Regions from separate parts of the Homo sapiens genome. Here region 1 is linked to region 2. The links are contacts of gene promoters, found by promoter capture Hi-C in human tissues and cell types (Jung and others, 2019). All regions are on one chromosome and are shown on one strand. The core of a region is centred on a gene start or on the middle of the fragment in contact, and the rest is flanking DNA. Distances in the headings are between cores, read along the strand shown. Region 1 overlaps ST6GAL2 (ST6 beta-galactoside alpha-2,6-sialyltransferase 2). Region 2 holds the start of ST6GAL2 (ST6 beta-galactoside alpha-2,6-sialyltransferase 2).

Evidence for each region. The method cuts DNA at HindIII sites, captures the fragments that hold promoters and counts their contacts. A contact is called where the count stands out against the background at its distance.
Region 1: a fragment that was not itself captured here is called in contact with the fragment with the promoter of ST6GAL2 in region 2 in 1 of the 25 tissues and cell types used here (liver).

The regions. Positions count from the first base shown.
Region 1 is chr2:106,838,090-106,843,016 of GRCh38, forward strand. All of the region lies in intron 2 of ST6GAL2 (ST6 beta-galactoside alpha-2,6-sialyltransferase 2), which reads right to left. Among named protein-coding and RNA genes, the nearest start is that of ST6GAL2, 46 kb to the right of the region's middle. The HindIII fragment of the contact is 5,765 bases long and covers 1-4,927 here.
Region 2 is chr2:106,884,900-106,890,121 of GRCh38, forward strand. It overlaps ST6GAL2 (ST6 beta-galactoside alpha-2,6-sialyltransferase 2), which reads right to left and starts at 1,268. Exons shown (of 6, transcript NM_001142351.2): 1 at 1,194-1,268. LOC124907864 (a long non-coding RNA gene) reads left to right here and starts at 1,634. Exons shown (of 2, transcript XR_007087169.1): 1 at 1,634-2,208. The HindIII fragment of the contact is 7,907 bases long and covers 1-5,222 here.

The sequences.
Region 1 (4,927 bases), core at 820-3,319, 46 kb before region 2:
CTTGATAATGCACTGTGAGAATAGAAGCTGTCCATTCATATTTAGAAAAAAAGGAATAGGTCAGACAGCAAATACAAGGGGAAGAAAGTCAAGTTCCATTTCTGGAGAAGGCATTTCCAGGCCAGAACCATGCTGTGTTGTCCTTGAGAATGGAGCCAGACAAGTGCATCCATGGAAGGAAAATTAAAGCCCTTCAAGGAGCTGCTGGGCCAGCACCCGGTCACCGCCCTGCCCCAGGCCCCATTCACCACATCATCCCCCTCTCCTACACTGATGAGAAAATTCAAACAGCAGGAGAGCAAGCCTCCAGTCACTAGAGAATGGCCTGCCTGGGATTGGACAAAGCATCGCTTTGGGAGCTCCATCACCCTGGGAGCCCTGTTTCTCCCCAGGACCTGTAACCCTCACCTCTTGATGTACTTCCCTTGCACCCTCAAGTCCAGGCTCTGGAGTGATCTCTCTACAGTGACTATCTGCAATGGCTGCACATCATGGGCACAGGGCTGAGAGCTAGTGTTTCTGGAGACCCAGACTGGGGTTTGAATCCAGACTCTGCACATGTGACTGGAGGTACCTTCATTTCCTTATCTGTAAAATGGGAACAAAGTTATCTATCACTTAGGGTTGTAAGGTTTACAACAGTTAGCACATAAAAAGCACTTTGGGTTGGGCACAGTGGCTCACACCTGTACTTCCAGCACTTTGTGAGGCCGAGGCGAGCAGATCACTTGAGGTCAGAAGTTCAAGACCAGCCTGGCCAACATCATGAAACCCCATCTCTACTAAAAACACAAAAATTAGCCGGGTATGGTGGCGCGTGCCTGTAATCCCAGCTACTCGGGAGGCTGACGCAGGAGAATAGCTTGAGCCTGGGAAGTGGAGGTTGCAGTGAGCCAAGATTGTGCCACTACACTCCAGCCTGTGCAACAGCGGGAGACTCCATCTCAAAAAAGCAAAAAAACAAACAAACAAAAAAAACAAGAGCATTTTGAACAGGGCCTTGTCTGTACTATATAAGTGGTACCTGATTTCAATTAAGTGAAGTCTAATATTCATAGAGTGGCTTGCAAGGGCATCCAGGAAGATGATCTGCCTTCCAAGCCTGCTTCTCTCTTCTGTCCCTACGAGCCCATGTACTCCCTGTAGCTCTCACCACCTGCACAACATGCTGTTTCTCACTTCCATATGATGCTGGGCCTTCAGCTTGGTCTCCTCTCCCTGGAGCAGTCTTTACCAATCTCTTCTCTCTACCAGCCCTCAGGGGAGTTAGGAATCCGTTGTCATTTCTGCCTTGTCAGCCTACATATCTCTCTGTCCTTCTCCAACCCACAACACTGGAATTGTCTGTTTACCACTGAAGTGTGCCGGTATGGATAGTTGAGCCTGTGACCTATTCATTTTTGTGTCTAGCCTAGGATCTGGTGGAGAGTTGGTGATCAATAAATAATGCTAATTGGATGAGTATATGGACTGCTTTCTTCTTTCTTGCTTTTTTAAAAGGTAACAGGACATGTCAAATCTCAAGCCCTCTCCACCAGTCTATGCATCCCACCCCCAGTCTCTCCCTCCATGTCCCATTTCCCATGCACTTGCCAGAATTCGAGTTTCAGGTACACAGATCTTGGTTTCCCACATGAAGGCTATTACTGGTGGTTCAGAGCAGACCTTTCTGCTCTGTAACATGTTTCCACATGAATGCTAGTAGCACTGCATAGAAGCAAATTATTATTGCTTATATGCATGGATGAAAACAGATCATCTTATAACTCTAGGAAAGAATGATCCAGGTTTCCAAAACAATTAGTTTGTTTTTCAATAACACATTCACAGTGGAAGTGTTTACAACTGCTCTACTTTTCTAACCAAAACCAATTCCATTGTGTGACCCAGTTCCAACAGAAGGGTAGGGGGATGGGGGCTGCACTGCCAGTGGAGCAAACACCAGGGGGAGCGAAAGGGCAGCCAGTAAGCAAACCTGAGACTGACTGGGTCTCCCTTTGACGTCAGCATGGAGAGGGCTCCTCCTGGCAGAACATAGGTAGGGCTGATAAGCAGTGATCATCTGAGACACTTCCTAGCTCTGCCTTCAATTTTTCATAAGATCGTGATCTTTGGTAAGTCTTTTGATCTTCATTTAGCCAATTCACAAGTAGATGCTTAGCGGCCAACAAGAATTTCGCTACACCATGCCCCCAATATTCTAAGCTGCCTGAAGGAATTTGCTGCCAGAGTTTGTTTGTATTCTGCAAGCCATTCATAACTATGTGGGTTTGCTTGCATATATTCAGGTGAACAGGAAGGAGCGAGGTCGGCACCTGGCATGTACACTGCTGATGCTGAGATACCAACTTATACAAATGAAACTTTTTGTTTATACAAATTGAGCCATGCTATGGTTACATGTTCTTAAAATAGTAGATACAAAATCTGATCCAAACAACCCTAGACAAAACAATAAAGAGAATTTTAAAGAAATTTCCAGGCATGTTCTTCAGTTGTGATTCTACAGTTCTAATCATAAAGGCTCATGCAAGTGCATGCCAAATAAATTAGATTTGGATACTAGAAATTAACAAAGATATAACTGGCATTTCAAGTTTCCCAGAAACATGGACTTCTCAGCGTCTTTCACGTTCTCTTCCAAATTGTAAACAGAGTTTACAAGATTCTGGTCAGGGATATTTATGCAGAAAAAAAGAACGAGGGACTGCCCACTGACATGCAAGAGCAATCCAGATCTTCACCTCTGATGCAGAGGTGTTTAAAACAAAACCAAACCGGAAGCAAGTTACTGCCTGCTTCAAGCATAATACTTAAATTCCTTCTCCACATTATTAATATTGGCTCTCAGAAATGAGAAAGAACTGTGGTGTTATTTCACCCCGGGGACCTCTAAACCACTGCTTCTTCTTAATAAATTGCAGGCTGCTCTGCTCTGGCTTTGGCTACAAGCTTATATGACACATGGACTGTGTTATTATGAGCCTGCTGTAATGTCAGCACAGGGACACAGGTACCCCAGACCTTGATTCCAGACTCACTGTCTTGTTTTTTTTAACTTTAAAAATATTTCTCATTCAGCCTCATGCCCAAGGACTTCTGCTGAGCTGAGATCTGGGCTTCTGAGCCTGCCTACAGTGGCTTCACCCTATTCCGAGAGAACTCTGGAACATAGGCCACTCTTCAAGGACACAGAACAACTAATGGATCCGCTTAAAATGAAGACAACAAAGATTACTTATTTGCAAAGAGGGAGCAACACTCCCGGAATGTCACTTCCAGACCAGTTATGCCCTAACAACGCCTACTGTGAGAGTGTACAGGACATGATTGTTTTATATCTGGACTTGAGGCTGACGCTGTATTTGACTCACATTTGTTTTACTGCTCCTCGTACAGAATCAAGCACATATTAGGGGCTAAACACATATTTGTCAAATGAATGAGCCTAAAGGGCCAAGCTGCTTGCTGACTGGTCTAGCAGTGGAATTAGCCTGGGAAGAAGGGGGGTTCCGGGAGCAAAGGGATCTGAAACTGCTGAGGGAGAGCCCAGCTATGGCAACACAAGAGCCTGGGTATCTCTGGCAAGACAGGGTGAGAGTCTGGGGCAGGTGGGGAAATGAATGTGATCCAGCGAGGAAGGGGAATTCTGAGGAGAGCCAATGCAGGCCCATCTGGTGCAGAACCTACACCACTCTGCAGGAGGGAAACGTATTTGAACCCTGCCATGGCCCCATCAATCAAAAAAGATTAGAATTGGTATTTTACTTGAAAACTAGGAAGAAATAGTGATGGCTAATGTTGTGTGCCATCTTGGCTAGGCCACAGTGCCCAGCTGGTTGGTCAAACACTAGTCCAGATGTTGCTGGGAAGGTGTTTTTAAGATGTGATTAACAGTTAAATCACTAGACTTTGAGAAAAGCAGACGACTCTCAAAATGCAGGTGCGCTTCCTCAAGCCAGGTGAATGCTTTAAGAACAAAGACTGAAGTTTCCTAAAAAAGAAACAATTCTGCCTCAAGACAGCAACACAGAAACTCTGCCTGAGTTTCCCATCTGCTGGGCTGCACTACCTATTTCAGACTTGCCAGCCTTCACGATCATGAGAGTCAAGTCCTTAAAATAAATCTGTCTCTGTATAGACACATATCCTCCTGGTGTGAGTCTCTGGAGAACCCTGACTGATACAGGAGCTGGGAAACATGTGCTCCAGGGCTCTTGACAGGGATGTGAAGGCAGAGCCTGGCAGGGAGGGAGGAAGCCCAGGTGTTGCATGTTATTTACCATCTTGGAGAAGGTCCCTGGTAGGTGCACTGGCAGTGCCCCAAAGGTTGGATTTGCGCCAACAGTTGGGAGGCCGGAACTTATTCTCCCATGGGAAAGATGTTCCCAACAGCAGCTGGGCTCTTCTCAGAGCTCACAGTAACCAATATTATCTTCATGCACCCTGCTCTTTGGAGCTGACGCCCTGATTGGGCAGCTTCTGCTTTCTTGCCTCCTCCTCTTGTTCCCTTCCCATATTCCCACTGCAGGATGGGTTCACCGGGCTTTCAGGGGCCACAGCCTGGGGGCATATCCATGCAGACTGCGGTTTCTATGGGATACGAAGTCTGAACAGTGAGAAGGACGCCGGGGGCAAAGGGCGGCGCTTTCCTTCCACTGCCTACTGGCATCAGCTATGGGGAGGACCCTTCCTGCTCCCTAGCATTCCCCAAATCCCTGCTCTAAGAGTCTCCCGAAGAGTACTTCTGCTGTGACCCCAGGCAGACTCATTCTGTGCCAGCAATGGGAAAGCACCTGAAGAATCTCCAGCTAATATTAGGAACACCTGGTGCGGAGACCCCAGCTTGCCCCGTCAGAGATCCAGAGGCGCGCTCAGAAAGAACCGGCCCCCAGGGACACACTGGCTCAAGACAGGGCGACCTGGT
Region 2 (5,222 bases), core at 18-2,517:
GCAGCGCATATATATATATATATATATATATATATACATACACACACACACATATATACATATGTGTATGTATATACATATACATCATATATATATAGCACTTCACTTTATTGGAATTCTTCCTTGGTCATAAATTATATTTCAAGTTGGCAAAAAATGTTGATCAGAATTTCAAAAAAGGGAAGCATCAAAGTAACCAGCATGGGGTTTTTCAAGTGTGCAGAAAGTTCTCTAAATACAAAATGTGCTTCCAGCCCACCAAAGACCCCCCTCACCCAAGCAGGCAGTCCTCGGCGAGGAGGGTCAGCATGCCCCTTTATGGTCAGAACGGCAGTGGTGCAAAAGACAATGATTTCAACCAAATATGGTTTGCCTCTCGCCAAATTTTTCGCATGTCCAATAAAAATAAGTTCACAAAAATCCAGCCAAGCATTACTTTCCCCCCAAAAGTGCTTCTCAGATTACAAAACAGCTTTGAAAGTTCAGCCTGACAAAACAAATATGGTACTAGGAGGAGAGACCTGGAAGGCAATCACAAAAAGTCTCATTTAAATTCCTGGAAAGCACAGCTTCTCCAAACACAGCTATTCAGCTCTTTGGAAGGCAGCACTTGCGGGAGCCATTGAGTTTAACTTCACTCAGTCCCCCAACACAGAACCGGCAAATCCGAATGAGATGGACGTCACACTCCCTACTCAAAAGAATGCATCAAATATCCACTCCGTAACACCGCGGAAAGTAAACCCAAAAGCGGAGTTTGCCGCCTGCCAACTACATAAGAATTAACACTCGGGTATTTAGGATTCTAAAGATCCCTACTACCCCAAACATTATAGCCACAGAGAACCAGAAATGAACAGAACACACTTTAACCTTTAAGAAGTGCAGTTTTGTACGGGGGTTGGCTGAAGAAAGACAAAAATCTTCACTCCCTTCCAGAGCCAAAAGAGCCAAAATAAAAGATCACCTTTACTGAGCCACAGGGGCACAACTGTATCCGCCCGTCCCCAAAGCGCAAGCCGTCCTCCCGTTCGCTTCTCCAGAATTTCCTGCTTTTCCCCAAACCACCTTCAACATTCCCCACACACGGGTCTCGCTCCTAAACACGGAGTGTAACTCCGCGCACAGCAGCGCGGAGGCTGCAGCGCCACCAAGAAAGGCGTCGCCAACCCTTACCCAGTGCCCTCCCTTACCAGCCTTCTTCCCACGCCGCGCCTCGAAGCGCACGACACCGTGGTGCTCGGTGCTCCCCCTGGCAGCGCGGCACTGGAGTCCAAGGCGTGCGTGTCACATTTTATTCCCCGGCAGCCGCTCGGGTGCGCGCGCTACGCGCTCCCACACTCACGCTGGCGCCCGCTAGAGCTGGGACCCTGGCCGGGGTCCCCGACTCACGCCGCGGAACTTGGGGGCTGCAGAAGGCGAGTGCGCGGCGGGAGTCGTCCTGCCGCAGGCTCGAGTCCTCCTCCTGCCACCGTGGGGTCTCGGAGCTGCCCCGCGCTCCCGTCCCAGGCGGCCTGCGGGATCACCTCTCCGGGGCCAGCGCTGCTCCGCGCCGGCGGCAGCTGCAAGCGCGGGCGGCGGGGCACAGCGGGTGGCTCGGCCTCAAAGCCGGCGGGAGGCTACGCTCAGCCCCGCGCTGCACGCCTCATTGTTTCGGGCAGCGCGGCGGCGGCTCCCGCGGCCAGAGGAACCGCGGCCCCGAGCCCCGGGGAGAGGCGGCGGTTCCCGGCCCACGCACCGAGGCTGCGCCGCGCCCCGCCCCCGAGCTCCGCTCGCCCCAGAGCCCCCTCCCTCTCCGCGATCCCTTTCATCCTTCCCGCTCCAGGCTCACCTAGCTGGCGGGAGCCGGGCACTGGGAAGTTGGGCTGCCCCCTCCCCGCGCCCCCGGCCCGGCAGCTCGGCCCGCCGGCGAGCGCAGGCGGGGCGCTCCCTGGCTGCGCGCGGATTTCTGCTTGTCGCGGAGAGTGACTGCAGACTTGGGCTGCGTGGGGCGGTGCGGGGCAGCACGGCTGCCTAAAAAGGCGTGTTTCTCCCCGGCCGCCGCCTCCATCCAGCCCTAGTTCTTCCGAAGGTTACCTGCACAGTACCCGCCTGGCACCGCGCCTGGACACCTCCGGGGCACTCGGGTCCCGGGCGGCGGCAGGAATGCAGGAATGCGCACAGGCTGTGGGCGGCCAGGAGGGAGTCCCGGCGCCTGCCCCGGCGGAAGTGAGTCTTTGTGTACCCTGTCCAACACCTCCCCCCGCCAGCGCGGAAGGCCGGGCTACCTGCGCGCCTGGCAGCGCCTGGCAGCCGGCTGGGTGGGGCGCAGGGGAGCGCAGCATCCTCCCCGGCTCGCTAGCTCCCTTTGTTCATCTCGCTCAACCAGGCTCCGCACTGCCGCCTGGCCCTCGCTCCCAGAGCTTCTCTAAGGATATGGGATGGACTTGGGAGCGGGCCACCTTTCATTTGGGAAGGGTAGCTCGCCAAGTCCGGTGACGGTGCTCCCTGGAGACCCCCACCTGCCCGCCCCTCCACACTGCCGGTCCCCAACCCCAAGAGGGACGGAAAGTTCTTGGGGTAGAAGCCGGCGGGACAAGTGGTTGAAGCAGCCTCCGGAGCCAGTGGGCGGCTGCGAGCTGGGCAGCTGGAGCCTGCGGGCGGGGCCGCGGGGAGGTGCCCATCGAGTGTCGGTCTGGTCGCGTGCGGAATGTCCACTTGTCACCGCGGCCCTTGCGTTTTCTCGAGACGGCGGCAGCTGGTCCTAGGACCCCAAACCGCGCCGCCCTTTGTTTGCTGGTAAATACTCTCCTGTGAACTTCAGCGTGTCTCTCCGCGCGCACTCCTGGCATTGGGTGCCCCACCCCGCTGGTTCTCTCGCGGACCCAAAGAGCTGTTCAGGTGTAGGGGAATCCCAGGTAGATGGATAATATTGCTAAGGTTGGGCCCATCTCAGGGGGACTGGTTAGTCACCCCTCACCCCACCCCACACCCTCAGTCGCTAGAAGGACACACGTTTTGGAGACAGAGATCTGCCATTAAATGTATTATTTAAAAATCCGCAAATACTTTTATTCAAGTAATTTAGACTTTTTTTTTAGGGGGGAAAAAGCAATTAACTGGCTACCCAATTCATTCAGCATTCATTAGTGCCTACCTTAGCCTGGAACTCTGAGCTAGACAGTGGGCGCCCAGAACTCCCTCAAAGAGTTTACAGAAATGTAAAACAGCACGGGAATTAAACTAAAATCGAGTGGGTATAATGCACTGTGTTCAAACAAAAGTGTGGGCCGAAAACGCTTACTCAGTATTTCCCCAATTGTATTAATTATGTCTGACACATGGAATTCTGCGGAACTGCCTGAATGAACAATGTGTTACACAGATATTTTTTAAAAAAAGAAAAATTATGGCCGGGCGCGGTGGCTCACGCCTGTAATCCCAGCACTTTGGGAGGCCGAGGCGGGTGGATCATGAGGTCAGGAGATCGAGACCATCCTGGCTAACAAGGTGAAACCCCGTCTCTACTAAAAATACAAAAAATTAGCCGGGCGCGGTGGCAGGCGCCTGTAGTCCCAGCTACTCGGGAGGCTGAGGCAGGAGAATGGCGTGAACCCGGGAAGCGGAGCTTGCAGTGAGCCGAGATTGCGCCACTGCAGTCCGCAGTCCGGCCTGGGCGACAGAGCGAGACTCCGTCTCAAAAAAAAAAAAAAAAAAAAAAAAAAAAAAAAGAAAAATTATATTTTATAAATGTGAAATACATACAGTGTGGTTAAAAGTGACCAAAACAAAACAGAAACAAACAACCTGATAGAGACCCATAGCTGGTGGGGATAGAGAAAGGAAATACTGCAGAAAGACTCACCTTCTTAATAGTAGAGGGGCGCAGAGGGGGTTGCAAAGTCTGTGGGCTTCTGTTTCTCTTCTGTATAATGGATGTAATAGTACCTACCTTCAGCCTGGCGCGGTGGCTCACACCTGTAATCCCAGTACTTTGGGAGGCCGAGGCGGGCGGATCACGAGGTCAGGAGTTCGAGACCAGCCTGGCCATAATGTTGAAACCTGTCTCTACTAAAAATACAAAAATGAACCGGGCGTGGTGGCAAGCGCCAGTAGTCCCAGCTACTCGAGAGGCTGAGGCAGGAGAATCGCTTGAACCTGGGAGGCGGAGGTTGCAGTGAGCCAAGCTGGTGCCACTGCACTCCAGCCTGGGTGACAGAGAGAGACTCCCTCTCAAAAAAAAAAAAAAAAAAAAAATTATATAGTATCTATCTTCAAGGTTTGTTGTAAGTAGAGAGCATGTGTTAAAAGCATCTCCCCCAGTGCCTGACATGTTATACCTAATAAATTGTAGTAATTAATAAATGACAGTGGCCATTATTAAAACACTTTACCTTGAAACAGAAAAAATTGTACACTTTTTATAGTGTATATATATCTTATACACTTACTATCCTTTCTGCGTAAATACTGCCAAAGTTGATATCTTAAAGAAATTTTAATGAGTTAAATAAAAGTGTCCAAATAACAGTCAACTTTATAGAAGTAGAAAAACTACCATCTTAAGGCAAATATGCAAATTACTGTTGTAAAACTTTAAGTGGATTGAGTTCATTACTTATGATCAAGGTAGTAAATACACAGTCACTAAACCGACTTAAATCTATTGCTTCCCAAAGGAACCACAAAGCCAGTTTATATACAGGAAGCTATATGCTGATGATTGCTTCTGTCAAAGTGTAATGGTAAATAAAATATTTTGGCACCCTTTAGTTTAATTACTCAGAGACACAAGGAGCAGATTATTTAATTATTTTATTGGTCTGTAGATTCATGAGGAATTCCTGAGTACCTCTGGCACTATAATATTATTTTCCTTACAAAATCATCAATAACAACAAAGCACAATAAACTTATTCCTACAGATAGGCAGCATTCAGAAATCCACTTGCTGTTATCCATTTGCTCATAATAATATGAATTTCCTTTCTTTCTTTTTTTAAATTCAGGGTTCCTCAATTCTCCTTTTCTCACCCTGTGTTAACTAACCAGCTGAGCTTTCACAGGGACAATTCCTTCCTGTTTCAGGAACTTGAAGCACATCATGAACAATCAACCAAATCAGGAAGCTCAGTTACTCAGCTGAGAAGCATTCAGGTGGGACAGGGATGAAGAATAAATATCTTCTAACTCCACCATTGGTGAATCTGGGCTATTTTATTTCTCTTACCTATTGTTCATAT